Regions from separate parts of the Homo sapiens genome. Here region 2 is linked to region 1. Evidence: promoter capture Hi-C in 16 types of primary human blood cells and fetal thymus (Javierre and others, 2016). All regions are on one chromosome and are shown on one strand. Each heading gives the region's core, a stretch centred on a gene start or on the middle of the fragment in contact. The rest is flanking DNA. Distances are from core to core; before and after follow the strand shown. Region 1 holds the start of PROZ (protein Z, vitamin K dependent plasma glycoprotein). Region 2 holds the start of MCF2L (MCF.2 cell line derived transforming sequence like).

Evidence for each region. The method cuts DNA at HindIII sites, captures the fragments that hold promoters and counts their contacts. A CHiCAGO score of 5 or more calls a contact.
Region 2: a fragment that was not itself captured here is called in contact with the fragment with the promoter of PROZ in region 1 in 2 of 17 cell types (total CD8 T cells and naive CD8 T cells); the score reaches 6.2 in total CD8 T cells.

The regions. Positions count from the first base shown.
Region 1 is chr13:113,153,929-113,160,144 of GRCh38, reverse strand. It overlaps PROZ (protein Z, vitamin K dependent plasma glycoprotein), which reads right to left and starts at 1,497. Exons shown (of 8, transcript NM_003891.3): 1 at 1,415-1,497; 2 at 1-131. The coding sequence starts at 1,484. It overlaps F10-AS2 (F10 antisense RNA 2), which reads left to right and starts at 6,159. Exons shown (of 3, transcript XM_011537532.4): 1 at 6,159-6,216. The coding sequence starts at 6,159. It overlaps LOC124903216 (a long non-coding RNA gene), which reads right to left and starts at 5,645. Exons shown (of 4, transcript XR_007063880.1): 1 at 5,280-5,645; 2 at 5,030-5,088; 3 at 4,265-4,328; 4 at 3,535-3,615. RefSeq lists enhancers at 283-860, 1,437-2,014 and a silencer at 5,729-5,778. The HindIII fragment of the contact is 2,151 bases long and covers 1-2,036 here.
Region 2 is chr13:112,969,025-112,975,715 of GRCh38, reverse strand. MCF2L (MCF.2 cell line derived transforming sequence like) reads right to left here and starts at 6,502. Exons shown (of 30, transcript NM_001112732.3): 1 at 6,258-6,502. The coding sequence starts at 6,336. RefSeq lists a silencer at 6,567-6,626. The HindIII fragment of the contact is 516 bases long and covers 5,184-5,699 here.

The DNA of each region.
Region 1 (6,216 bases), core at 248-2,747:
TTCTTCATAGACACAGATTTCTTCATAACATTCTTTTTCCAAGTTTCCCTCGAAGAGTTCTTCCAGAAGATAGGAGCCCGCACGCTTCCACCTCACCAGAACGTCGTTTGCTTTGGAGGCCGGGAGAAATACTACAGACGAGACAAGAAGGCAGGTGACTGGGAGCACCGAGGGCCCTGCTTTCCAGAGCTGCCTGGCTTCCTCCCCGGCCGGCCGCCAGCCCCAGCCCCGTCCGTCTCCACAGGCTCTCAGCCTGCGAGGGCCTCAGGGCCACCCCGCTACTCCCTCCCCCGAGGTAGGCAAGCACTTCATCCTCTGGGCGAATGGATCAGCCCCAGGATCAGTGCGGATACACTAAGGTTCTGCAGAGAGGCCACGGGCCTCAGTCAGGAAAGTGGAGGAGGGAGGGCTCCAACTGGGTTTTGGGTCTGAGTGCGAAGGAAGGCTGAGCTGGGGTCAAAGGTCCCCGTACTGAGAACTGGGGACCAAGAGCCATCAGCTCCTGTGCTGCCTCTGTGCGCAGCATTTAACATCTTGATAAAACACATAAAGAAGAAACTTATACATTGCAGCAGGCTCTGCGATTTCCAGGAGGAGAAGGCAAATGAGTTGACCCGCGGCAGTGGTCTCTGGAGCCTCTTCCCACCTGAGGGTCCCAAAGCATGTTCTCTCCCTCTCCGGGAGGGTCAAAGCCCAGGCCCTTCCCATCCTCCCTCCTTTTCTCTCGGTGCTGAGGGTTACAGCAGGGGGGGCTCAGCTAAGTCCGGCTACGGTAAGTGCTGGGCAGGGCAGGGCGGGGGGATCACCCTCTCAGGGTGGGAGACCATGGGGCCAGCGGGAGACCATGGGGCCAGCGGGGATGCTGGGTGTTTTGACTTGCAGCTTTCCTGGACGCCTGTGCAGGCAGAGTCAGAATGGAGTCCATGTCGTTCCTTCAGTGAAGTGGCTGGTGGTAGAAGGGTGGCAGGCAGGCAGGGTGGCTGCTCCCTGGCTATGTCTCCTGACTCAAGACTGGGCATTCCTGGCTGGCCTGGCCAAGGCTCTCTCTGCCCACATTGCAGTCTGGGCTCAGCCTGCCCCACCCCCTCCCCTCGTCCAATGCCCAACCCAGGCCTCCCCCCACTCCTCCCCCTTTCCCCCTCCCCTCTCCCCGGCCTTTCCCGGCTGAATCCCCTGCACACAGGCTTCTTTCCATTTGGGCATCTCTTGGGAGGACCCCAAGTGACACTATCATGTCCCAAATACTTGTCACCAAATGATAAAGATCCAAACAGCTTTTTCAGGGGAATTAAGACTAGTCTGGGCACTCAGGGCTCCTCTGGCTCCTGGAAAAAGCCTCATCTACAAATCCACCATGGACCGAGTCAAGAAAGACACAGCACAGGCACAACAGACAGGTAAGCCAGATGCCTACCTGAGGGCTCCACACGATGGAGGGCGAGGACCAGGACCAGGCCCTGGAGCAGTGGGACGCAGCCTGCCATTCCCACCCGGAGCGCTGGGACAGGGCTACAAACACAGCCAAAGTCCAGGCTGGGGGAGGTGCCGGCAGCAGGAGCCTCGGGGCACGACCTGTGCAGCTGTGTGCTTCCCTCCTGACGTTTTCTGTTTGAGGCCAGGCAGAGAAATGAACGGTGAAGGCTCAGAGGACCCTGGGAGATATTTAGGGAGACAGAGAACAGAAGGTAAAGGCAGCAGGTGCAAGGTGGAAGGTGGCACCCATGCCCGTGTGTGGTCAATGGAGGTGAGATAGGCCCTGGGGACACAGCACTGGGCGGGACAGACAAAGTCACATGCAGCTTACGTTCTAGGTGTGTGTGGAATACACAGAAAAGAACGAGGGAAAGAGACAGGAGGGAGTGAGGGAGGGAAAGCAGGAGGATGGAAAGAAGGAAGGGGAGAAAAGGAAGGGAGGGAGGGAGGAGGGAGAAAGCGGGGAAGGGCCAAATAGTGTCTGTCACTACAGCTCAGCACCATTGTAGCAGAGGCAGCATAGACAATCATGAATGAACACTTGGCTGTGTGCCAATAAAGCTTTATTTATAAGAGCTATTAAGGGGCCAGATTTGGCCCCAGGGTTGTCGTTTGCTGCTTTCAGATGTAGGCCCTGTGTATTAGTCCCTTCTTACACTGTTATGAAGAAATAGCCAAGACTGGGTAATTTAAGAAAAGAGGTTTAGTTGACTCCCAGTTCCACATGGCTGGGGAGGCCTCAGGAAACTTATAATTATGGCAGAAGGCACCTCTTCACAGGGTGGCAGCAGAGAGAATGACTGAAGCAGGGGAAATGCCAGATCCTTATAAAACCATCAAATCTCTTGAGACTCACTCACTATCCCAAGAATAGCATGGTGGAAACCACCCCCATGATTCAATTACCTCCCACCGGGTCCCTCCCAGGACACGTGGGGACTATGGGGATTACAATTCAAGATAAGATTTCGGTGGGGACACAGCCAAACCATATCAGCCCTTGAAGCCTGAGGTAAGAACCTGGTGTTTCATTTTCACTGTGTTGGGAAGATATTGGAGGGAACAGGAATTGACATGGAAAGATTTGTGCTCTGAAGGGATCACTGGGCTGCTGTGTGGAGAACAGAACATTCCAGAGAAGTCAAAAGGGAGGCTGCCGGCTAGTCCAGGAGGGGGTGAGGGTGCAGCCATGCAGCAGGAAGCACGTTTGCAGTCTGGATGCTTCAGGAAGGGAAAGCTGATGGGATTCATGATGAATTGTGTCGGGCAGCACGGCTCCAAGGTTTGGGCTGAGCGATTGGGAGGATGGCAGTGCGTGTGCTGAGACGGCCAAGCTCCAGGAGGGCAGAGGGAAGCGAGGTTTGGCAAATTTGAGGTGTCTGTGGGATGTCCAGGTGGAGACAGGAGTGGGCATCCGAGAAGCTGGGACTCACAGTGGAGATTCAGGTGGTAACAGATGAAATGACAGCATTGTCAGCATATAGATATTGTTCGATTGAATGACACTCAAAGGTGGCAAAACTCAATGAAAGGATTCTAAATACAATTTTGTTAAAGTGGGAACAGAAGAAAACTAAGAAGCTGACACCCTTGATTAAGAGGGCATGCCCGCAAATACACTGAAGTTGTGAAGTTTGCTTTAAAAAGCTGGGAAAAGAAAATAAAGTTTATCTTTAGTGAGTGAGTTAAAATAATTTGAAAGCCAGAAGTTGATTGTATAGGATAGCTCTTGGGTGAATTGCACCAGCCTGGCAATCTACGTGGCCTTCACTTAAGAAAAGGTGCCTTTTTTTGTGTGAAAATGTATTCCCACATGGAAATTTACATTAAAAATACTTCTGCTGGATAGTTTAAAAACCATCAATAGCTGCCTAAAAATGGAAAGGCAGACAGGGACATACACATTCGATCAATAAGTGTTAATTAAGCACATCCTATATGCCTGACATGGGTATCTGAGCTACAACCTCTTCCCTCATGGACCATTTTAGTCTGTTGGGGCTGCTGTAACAAAACACCTTAGAGTGGGTAATTTACGATAAACAGAAACGTAGTGCTCACAGTTCTGGAGGATGGGAAGTCCAAGATCAAGGCTCCAGTAGACTCAGTGTCTGGTGACGGCCCATGATTCATAGACGTGTCCTTGGATGGTGGAAGGGAGGAATGTGGGTGCTCCCTGGAGCCTCTTTTGGGAGGGCAGTCATCCATCCATGAAGGCAGAGTGCCTCCCAGAGGCCCCACCTCCTAGTACTATTGCACAGGGGGTTAGGTTTCAACGTGAGTTTTGGGGGATGGTTTGGCTCTGTGTCCCCAACCAAATCTCACCTTGAATTGTAATAATCCCCACAGGTCAAGGGCAGGACCAGGTGGAGGTGATTGAATCATGGAGGTGGTTCTTGTGATAGTGAGTGCATTCTCACAAGAGCTAATGATTTTATAAGGGGCTTCCCCCTGTGATTGACACACATTTTCTCTCTCCTGCCACCCTGTGAAGAGGTGCCTGCTTGCCATGATTATGTTTCCTGAGGCCTCCCCAGCCATGTGGAACTGTGAGTTCATTAAACCGCTTTTCTTTATAAATTACCTAGTCTCAAGTATTTCTTCACAGTGACATGAGAACAGACTAATACAGGAAGGCATCAACATCGAGGCCACAGCTGTGATTGACTGTGTTGTACGTGGACTGACCGTGTTGTATGTGGTGATTTAATTTTCTCATCTGCCTTCTCAAAGATACCACCTTTGGACCAAAAATTCTACAATAATAAATTGTCCAAACATTAAGATTCACCTCGTTCTACTCATCTTCCTCATCTCTCATATGAATAATCGTTCTTCTGTCACCCTCTTCTGTTCTGAAAAACAAACCAACCAACATTGGGACACTTTTTCCATTGACTGGTTTACTTTCCTTCTGTATACCTGAGGAGAATCTTCCTTCCTTTGGGGTCTTTGTCGTGTCCTTCAGATGTTGGGGTGTCCTCTGTGGGGGTCCCCAGCTTAAATCAACTGACCCCACAACTTTGTGTGGAACCTGAAATGAGCAGCCTATGGAGAACCTGGTCATTGAATACTTAGATCTTGCCGCAGTCCCTATTTAAATACCTGTTCAATCAACTCTGGGACCTATGTTTTAGATTTCAACATCTCTGAATTGGCCTGTTCCCTACAGCCAATGTTCTAATGTCAGCCTGGACAAGGCCGAGTTCTTCCTGAAAGGGGTTGTGCTTTATGTTGCCCCCTGGGGGCACTGCCACTTTGCAATCCCTTTAAATACATTTTTTTGTGTGAGTTTTGGGAGCCCATGTGAATAGTGTAAATGTATTGCAAAGCTGGTTCCTGGCTGGCCTGTGGTTTAGATTATCTGAGCTTCCCCCTCTTGCCTCCAGGCTGAGCTGACCCACAGCTAATTTGGGTATATGCTCTTTCTTTCAGGTTCATCAATAATGGTGCGTCTTAGATTCACAGAGTAGAGTGTGGTCTAGTCCACTTTGTGGTGCTGTAACAGGATATCTGAGACTGGGTAATTTATAAAGAACAGAAATTTATTTCTTACAGTTCTGGAGGCTGGGACATCAAAGGTCCAGGGGCCCCCATCTGGCGAGGGCCTTCTTGCTGCGTCATCCCATGGTGGAAGGTGGATGCGCGTGAGAGAGAGAGAGAGAGAGAGAGAGAGAGAGAGAAAGGGGAGAGAGGAAGGGGGCCAAACTCATCCTTTTATTCCAAAATAACGAACCCACTCCTACAATAGTGGTATCAATTCATTCACGTGGGCTCTGACAATGAATGCGTCTTAAAGGTCCCACCTCTCAACACTGTTGCCTTGGGATTAAGTTTCCAACACGTGCACTATAGGGACACATTCAAACCACAGCATGCTGCATCCTCTGATGTCCACATTGTGGATGGAGGTGGCAGCTTATCACCTGGAGCTCCTGAAGAAATTAAAGAGGAGACACATGGTGACGCAGCCCACAGCCTGGCGTTTTTAGCATCTCAGAAGCACTGACAGGGACCCGCAAGCTTATGAGAAACTGTTCAACTCATTGGGCTTCCTCAGAGCTTGGGAGACCATTAATGTGGAAGACACTATCTGGACATGTTTCTCTTTTTTCCACCTGTCTAGATTTTCTTTCAGGATCGGGGAGACTTCTGGAGTAGAAAAGCCACTCCAGAACCCTTCCTCCTCCTCCCCCACACCCCGCCTCATGAGCGGCTGCCCTCCGCGTGGCATGGAGTCCCCGCGTCCACTCAGAACCCTTCCTCCTCCTCCCCCGCGCCCCGCCTCCCCCGCGCCCCGCCTCCCCCGCGCCCCGCCTCCCCCGCGCCCCGCCTCCCCCGCGCCCCGCCTCCCCCGCGCCCCGCCTCCCCCGCGCCCTGCGTCACGTGCCCCTGCCCTCCCCGACGCCCCGCCCCCCACGCCCCTCCTCCCCCACGGCCCGCCCCCCCACGCCCCTCCTCCCCCACGGCCCGCCCCCCCACGCCCCTCCTCCCCCGCGCCCCGCCTCCCCCGCGCCCCGCCTCCCCCACGCCCTGCGTCACGTGCCCCTGCCCTCCCCCACGCCCCGCCCCCCACGCCCCGCCCCCACGCCCCGCCTCCCCCACGCCCCGCCCCCCGCGCCCCGCCTCCTCCACGCCCCGCCTCCCCCACGCCCTGCGTCACGTGCCCCTGCCCTCCGCGCAGCATGGAGTCCCTGCGTCCCGGCTCCACGGTGCGGGAGTCCTCCGTGGTGGCTGAATTCG
Region 2 (6,691 bases), core at 4,192-6,691, 190 kb after region 1:
GGGATCGTCAGTGCGGTCACACACCTAACTGTATGTGAGGATGACCACGGCAGCGGCTCCCTGAGGATGACCACGGCAGCGGCTCCCTGCTGTGCACAGGTGCTCATGGCGGGTACCCGCCGGCACTGACCATGTGCACAAGTGACCCTAACAGCAAACGGGTCCCCACAGCTTCCTGCCTGCTGGGTGCTTCTCAGTGCTTTTCATGCAGATTTAACTCATTTGATTGTCACATCAACCCTAGCAGGTAGGTGCTCTCCTGAGTCCATTCTGCAGATGGGGAAACCGAGGCACCACACAGCCACAGATGGCAGAGCTGGGGTTTGACCTCACAGGTCACGGGTCCAGCACCAGTGATTTTAACCTAATAGTCAATGCAACCCTTCATAGGGGCCCCGCTAACCTCACAAGGTGCAAACCTCATCCCACATCTTATCCACATATGACCACCAGACATTAGACATTCTAACTTCAGTACTTCGCTAGAATTCCAATGTAGGCAGCTCCATTTTTGTGTGTGTATCAGACAAGGGCAGTTAGCTTGTAAACATTCCAAAAGGCGTAACAGATGCTTCTTTCTCCACACCCAGAGTTATAAAATGAATGTGACCAGATACCTTCTGAGTTAATCCGAAGGGTAGAAGTGTGAAAATACTACTTACAGTGGTATCCTTCCAACTCTACGGATGGTGACGTGAGCTGACGTGGAAACGATAGTTCTGGTGAAAGAAGGGGCTATGTTGAGAGTGCTGCCTGCACGTCGTAGGCGGCGGAGGAAACGAAACACACGGAAAAGGCAGCCGAGCTTTCCATAATTAGGCTGCAGAACCAGCTTGGCTCCAGAAACTGTATTTGGTTAAATTATGAGTCAGTAGACCCTAGAGTCTGTTAAAATTATTCTCTACTCATGAAAATGTGTTTGTCAGACATAGCATGCCTTTCATGAGCAGCTGAAGCCTGGAGAACTTCTGATTGTGATGCTTATGCCTTGTTTTTTATTATGGCGAAAGCAGGTCTCCCGAGCCAGCTTCTCTCATATTTACTAGTCCCTAAAGTTCTAATTCTGGAGTTCATCCTCCAGTATCTCTCATATTTACTAGTCCCTGAAGGTCTAATTCTGGAGTGCACCCTCTGGTATTCAGCTGGTATTGATGATCAACAAATGTGATTTTCCCCAGAACGTCTGCAAAATGAGTGGAACCCCTAAAATCCATGCACTTTCCACACCCAAGGGGCCAGGCTTATGAAAAGCAGCAGAACAGCAGCATGCCAGGGGTGCAAAAGTCCAAGCAAACTCATCCAATGAGGTTGGCCACGCCGGGGGCTTCATGGACTCAGAGGCTGGCCATGCCAGGGGCTTTGCAGACTCAGAGGTTGGCCACGCCGGGGGCCCTTGCAGACCTGGAAGTCAGCCACGCAAGGGGCTTTGCAGACTCAGAGGTTAGCCATGCCCGGGTGCCTTTGCGGAACTGGTGCCCCTAGTTCTGAGGGGGAGTTTGCACCACTATAGAAGGTGGTCTTACCCTTAGGGAAGCCAAATGCAGGGAACTCCAAACGTAAGACTAAAGGAGGAGGAAGCCAGCAGGTGATGTGGAGCGGCAGGTGATGAAATGCCAGATAAGGAAGTGCCGGGCAATGAGGCACCAGGTGAGGAAGCGCCAGGATGGGAGCTGATGAAACAGTGGGGGATGGGGTCAGAGGGGGCAGTGGAAGAGTCAGGAGCGGCTTTGAAGACGGAGATCAGGAAGACGCTGGAAGGCGGCCACCATCCCAAGGCACAGGTGCAGCGTGAAAAGGGGCCAGTGACTCAGGAGGCGGTGGCCAACACAAGTCCCCATGAAACTCGGAACACACCTCGCAGGCATCCCCTTCTCAGGTGCTGCCTGGCATCACTCACTCCTGAGACCTTGCCTGTGGTCACTCAGCGCCAGCCCCTGGAGCCACGGGTCTCCCTGAAGGGCGCTCCAAGCAAACACAGGGCCGGCCCCCCAGTGTCCTCAGAGCAGGCCGGAACTGAAACCCCCGGGAGCTCATAAGTCTGCCCCTGGTTCCACAGGTGAAGCCGTGCTCGCGCCGTCTTCGCATGGAGGGCGTCAGACTCACCCAGCTGGGAGGCCTGAGCGCTGCGTTCTCAGGAGCTCTTGGGAAGCACTGAGCCGTGGCGTCAGATCACAGAAGGTCAGCAACACAGGACACCAAGGATGCTCAGAGGACTCACGGTTTCCTCACAAGCCTCCCTCCGCTCAAATCTCTAAAACCTGCTCCGGAATCCCTACTAACAAGATCCATAACAACATCCCATGAAAGCTAATTGTTTTTTAAATGTTTCTGTACTTTATAGTCACACCTATCTAATTAGAGACCTAAATTTCATGTTACAAAATAGTCAGCAACCCACACAGACGTACCTCATTTGGCTGCGTGGTTTTTCTCCTAAAGGGCCTCAGCACATTTAAAAAATGGACAAAGAAATCATGGCTCCTTGAGGAGACGCCAATCACTGAGGCCGAAGGCAGAGGCGTGAGAGGGGAGTGCTAAGGCGTCCGTCAGAAACCGCTGGGCTGGCTAATAAGCAGGTGGCATTTTGCCAGGGAGCCGCACCTACTCCACTGAGAGCTCTTCAATTCCACACAGAAATGCGTGCCCCTGCCTCCTGGGCGCGTCCCCCCAGAGCTTTTCCTCTGAGACCTGCAACTGGGGGGTGCCGAACAGCTGTGCCTGTGTGGTGGTCCTGGGAAGCCCCCTCATCCCCCAAAGCCCCTCCGTGCTGCTGTGTCCCTCAGCCCATTGCTCAGGCCACAGGCCCTTCCCAGGAAGAGCTTAAGGACAGGAGGCAGCACACAGCTTTTGCTCATCCATCCATCCATCCATTCATCCATCCATCCACCTTCCATCCATCCATCCACTCCTCCACTCCATGCATCCACTCATCTATGCATCCATCCCTCCCTCCCTCCATCCATCCACCCACCCATTCATCTATCCAGTCATCCAGTCATCCATCCATCCATACACCCATCCACCTACCCCTCCATCTACCTTACATACATATATCCACTCATCCATCTATCTACCAACTCATTCATCCATCCATCCATCCACTCATCCGTCCAAGCATCCACTCATCCATCCATCTACCCATTCATCATCCTCCATTTATCTATTTATCCATCCATCCACCCACACATCCATCCATCCACTCACACATCCATCCATCCATCATCATCCATCCATCCATCCACCCACACACCCACTCATCCACCCTTACATTCATCCACCCACCCATCCATCCACCCACTTATCCACTATCTACTAACTCATTTATCCATCCATCCATCCATCCATCCATCCATCCACCCACTTACACATCCATCCATCCATCATCATCCATCCATCCATCCATCCACCCACCCACACATCCATTCATCCACCCCTACATTCATCCACCCACCCATCCATCCACCCACCCACCCATCTACCCATTCATCCATCCATCCACTCATTTATCCATGCATTATCCATCTATCATCATCTGTCTATGACAAGAGTTAGTATTAGGTCAACTAATGGAAAAGGTGGGGCTAGATTTAAAGATTCTTCTACCACAGTAGTTCCCCAAGTTTGATTCCTGAAGAACTTCATCAAGAACTTAAGAAATGTCAATTATCAGACCCTACCCCAGACTTCCTGAATCAGAAACTCTGAGGGTGGGCCCAGCAGCCTGTGCTTTAACAAGCCCCCAAGGTGACGCATGTACATGCTGTAGTTGGAGGACCACTGTTCTGTTTCATCGAATGCTTAAATCAACTAGATCCATAGCATTGCTCCCTCGAATGTCTTCTACCTTTTCACCAATGACTAAAATTCCAAAGAGAAAACCAAAACAGACGAAAATGAGCCCTATCACATAGAAGGGGGGCCAGGGGGAAGTTGCCACTGGAAAGTGCCCCTGGCCTTGTTACTGAAGATCAGGTTCAGAAAAGTATATAAAATGTCAATTCTCAAGGTCAAAGGCTACAGATTCACAGACCATATGGACAGCACACATTATCCTCCTTTACATGCAGATTAGCCTAGCTAATGAAGGTTCTAGGTGACAGAAGAAATGCATAAATCTGAAATTAAAACACAGCAGCATGTCCTGGACAGCAGCAAAGATAAAATGCCTGTGGGTTGGGGGTGAATCTACAGAGGGTGAAGCTCTGCACAGCTGAATGAGGCAGCTGCTCTAAGGCCAGCCGCTGTACGCAATCCCTCAGCTGTGACCTAGCCCCGCCACTGCCCTGAGGACCTACACCAGCCGCCACATCAGTGTCCTGTTGCCATCAGCTTTTACCTGGCACGGATCCTAGCATGACCCCAGAAGGAGAAGCAGCTCCATGACCTCCCGCTGAAGAGTGTTTGGCTGCAGGTGGGGAACTCTCCTGAGGAAGTGCTTGGAATTTAAACCCGAGGTGGGGATCAGGTTTACCTTGACCTTCACCCCTACCAGAGAATGTGCACCACATACCCGTACACTCTGTGGTAGCATCATGTCAATACTGCATCATAAACCCCCTCATGATGGTTTTACAGCCTTCAACCTAATAACTTGCCTCCGCTGAGCAGTACCTCACACAGCGTGAGCAGAAAATGGGTTTGTGCTGAAGGAAGAGGCCAGTGTTAATGGGTGGTAAGTGGAGTATGATGCAGGGTCACCTCCCCTAACTAAACGCTACAGGGTGCTCATAACCGAGGATATCTGGTAAGCTGGACTTGAAAGTCCTGGTGAAGCATGCAATTATCGGTAATGCAGATGTGTGGGAGGACGCACATCTCACTGCCTGTTCCAGATGAGACGATGGCCCACACCGAGCGCCCGGCTCGCACGACATTCAGTGAGCAGACAGTGTCACTGCTGCTCTTCTGAGATAGCCTTTTTCCAATTAAAAATGCGCACATGTCTCTTGGAGCTCATGAAGAAACCCCAATCCCTAAAAACCTGGGGAATGACATCAGCCTCTGGAGCGGTTCCCACTCTGTGACTCTGACACCGAACGGCACGCAGAGGCATGCAGAGCAAGGGGGGCTTTCTCCTCCACCCCCACAGCCGATCGGAAGCCTCCCTGTGAACCTGGCATCCACGCAGCCCTTCACCATACTCAAACCCTGCAAACCCTGCACGGAAAAGCTCCACTCAAGCTTCAGAAAAAGAGCTGATTCTCTAAGAATCAGGGAGCAGACGGCATGAAAATGGTTTTGTTTTCTTTCGACCCACATACAATAAACCCAGCAGCTTTGATCATAAAAGCCCCCATTAAAAACATCTTGATTAGACCATCCCATACGATGGTGCTTATGCTGATTTAATCACTGGTTCACTCTCAGAATCCATCGGGGTGGGCAGAGAAAGAGAACCACACCCAAACCAAGCAACTGACATTTTAATCTCCCAGGCAAGTACTAGTTAGACAACTAGTAATGGCATATATGACATAACATATGGCAACATCAGGCAAAACACTTGGCAACTTACTTTTAATGATATATCATTATTTCCTCTTCATTTCAAGGAAAACGAGTTAAGGATGCCTCTCCCTTCTGCATAACACAGCCTGAGAACTCAGATGCGACCGCCTGAAAGCCACGGCCAGATGCAAGCTGTCAGCCCAGTCTCTGCTTACACCTAAAAGAATCGATCTGAACTACTCTTCAAAGCTTATTTGAAGTAATATTTCGATTAATACTGAAAATGAACGTCCAGTCCACTCTTTACCCATACCGTCTCAAACATCTGTCTTAGGTTTAAATTGCATTTAATGAAGAAAAGAACCACCTGATTAGTCCAGGTTTTTTCATCCTCAAAACGAGCTTCCAGGTAGCTTCACCATCCCTACCCCTGGCTCTGAAACCCCAAGCTCTGAAAGCCCTTGGCTCAGATCATTCTCCATTCGCAATGCATTCTCCATTGCGAGGGCTGCGGACAGGCAGGTTGATGGGCAGACTTCAGACACACAAATGGCTCCGCATGCAGACCCAGCAACCCTGAGAGAGCCAGTGTCACCAACGTGCAGTCATTTTGACTATCCCGGGCAGCATACGATCGCCGACAGCCTCTGAAAACACACCAGCTGCCAACCAGTGCCCCCCATGTCACAGCTACCACGGCTAGAAAGGAACACGAGGGCGGCTTACAAAAATCAGACGCATTTCCCCACATTTCAGCCCATGATGTCAAGCTTAAGCACAGATCACTGACGGCCAGCAGCTCCTCCTACCCGTGTGCTTGGAAACCGCATTTAATCTCTGCACCATTTCTTCCAAGGCCATCTCTTCAGTCCTCAGCCAAAACCTCATCCTCCGACACAACAAAAATGATCCTGGCAGATCCGCTTCCTCCGCACGGGGGGCGCCTGCGGGTGGGGCCGTGCGAGTGCGGAGGGGGCGCGGCGGAGGCGGGGAGGGGGCCACGGCAGCGCTTTCAGCCTCCAGCCGCCGCCTCCCTGCCCAGGATTGGTTCCGCGCCACCGGGAGGGGGGCGCGCGCTGCGCCGCGGGGGGCGGGGGGCGGCTCGGCGGAAGCGGAAGCGGCGCGCGCCCGCCCCGGTGTGTCACCACCGCGGGTCACCTGGGAGTCCTGTGAGTGCACCGCCGGGGTCACCTGGGAGCCCCGCGTGTCACCGCCGCGGTCGTCGGGGAGCCCCGGGGCTCAC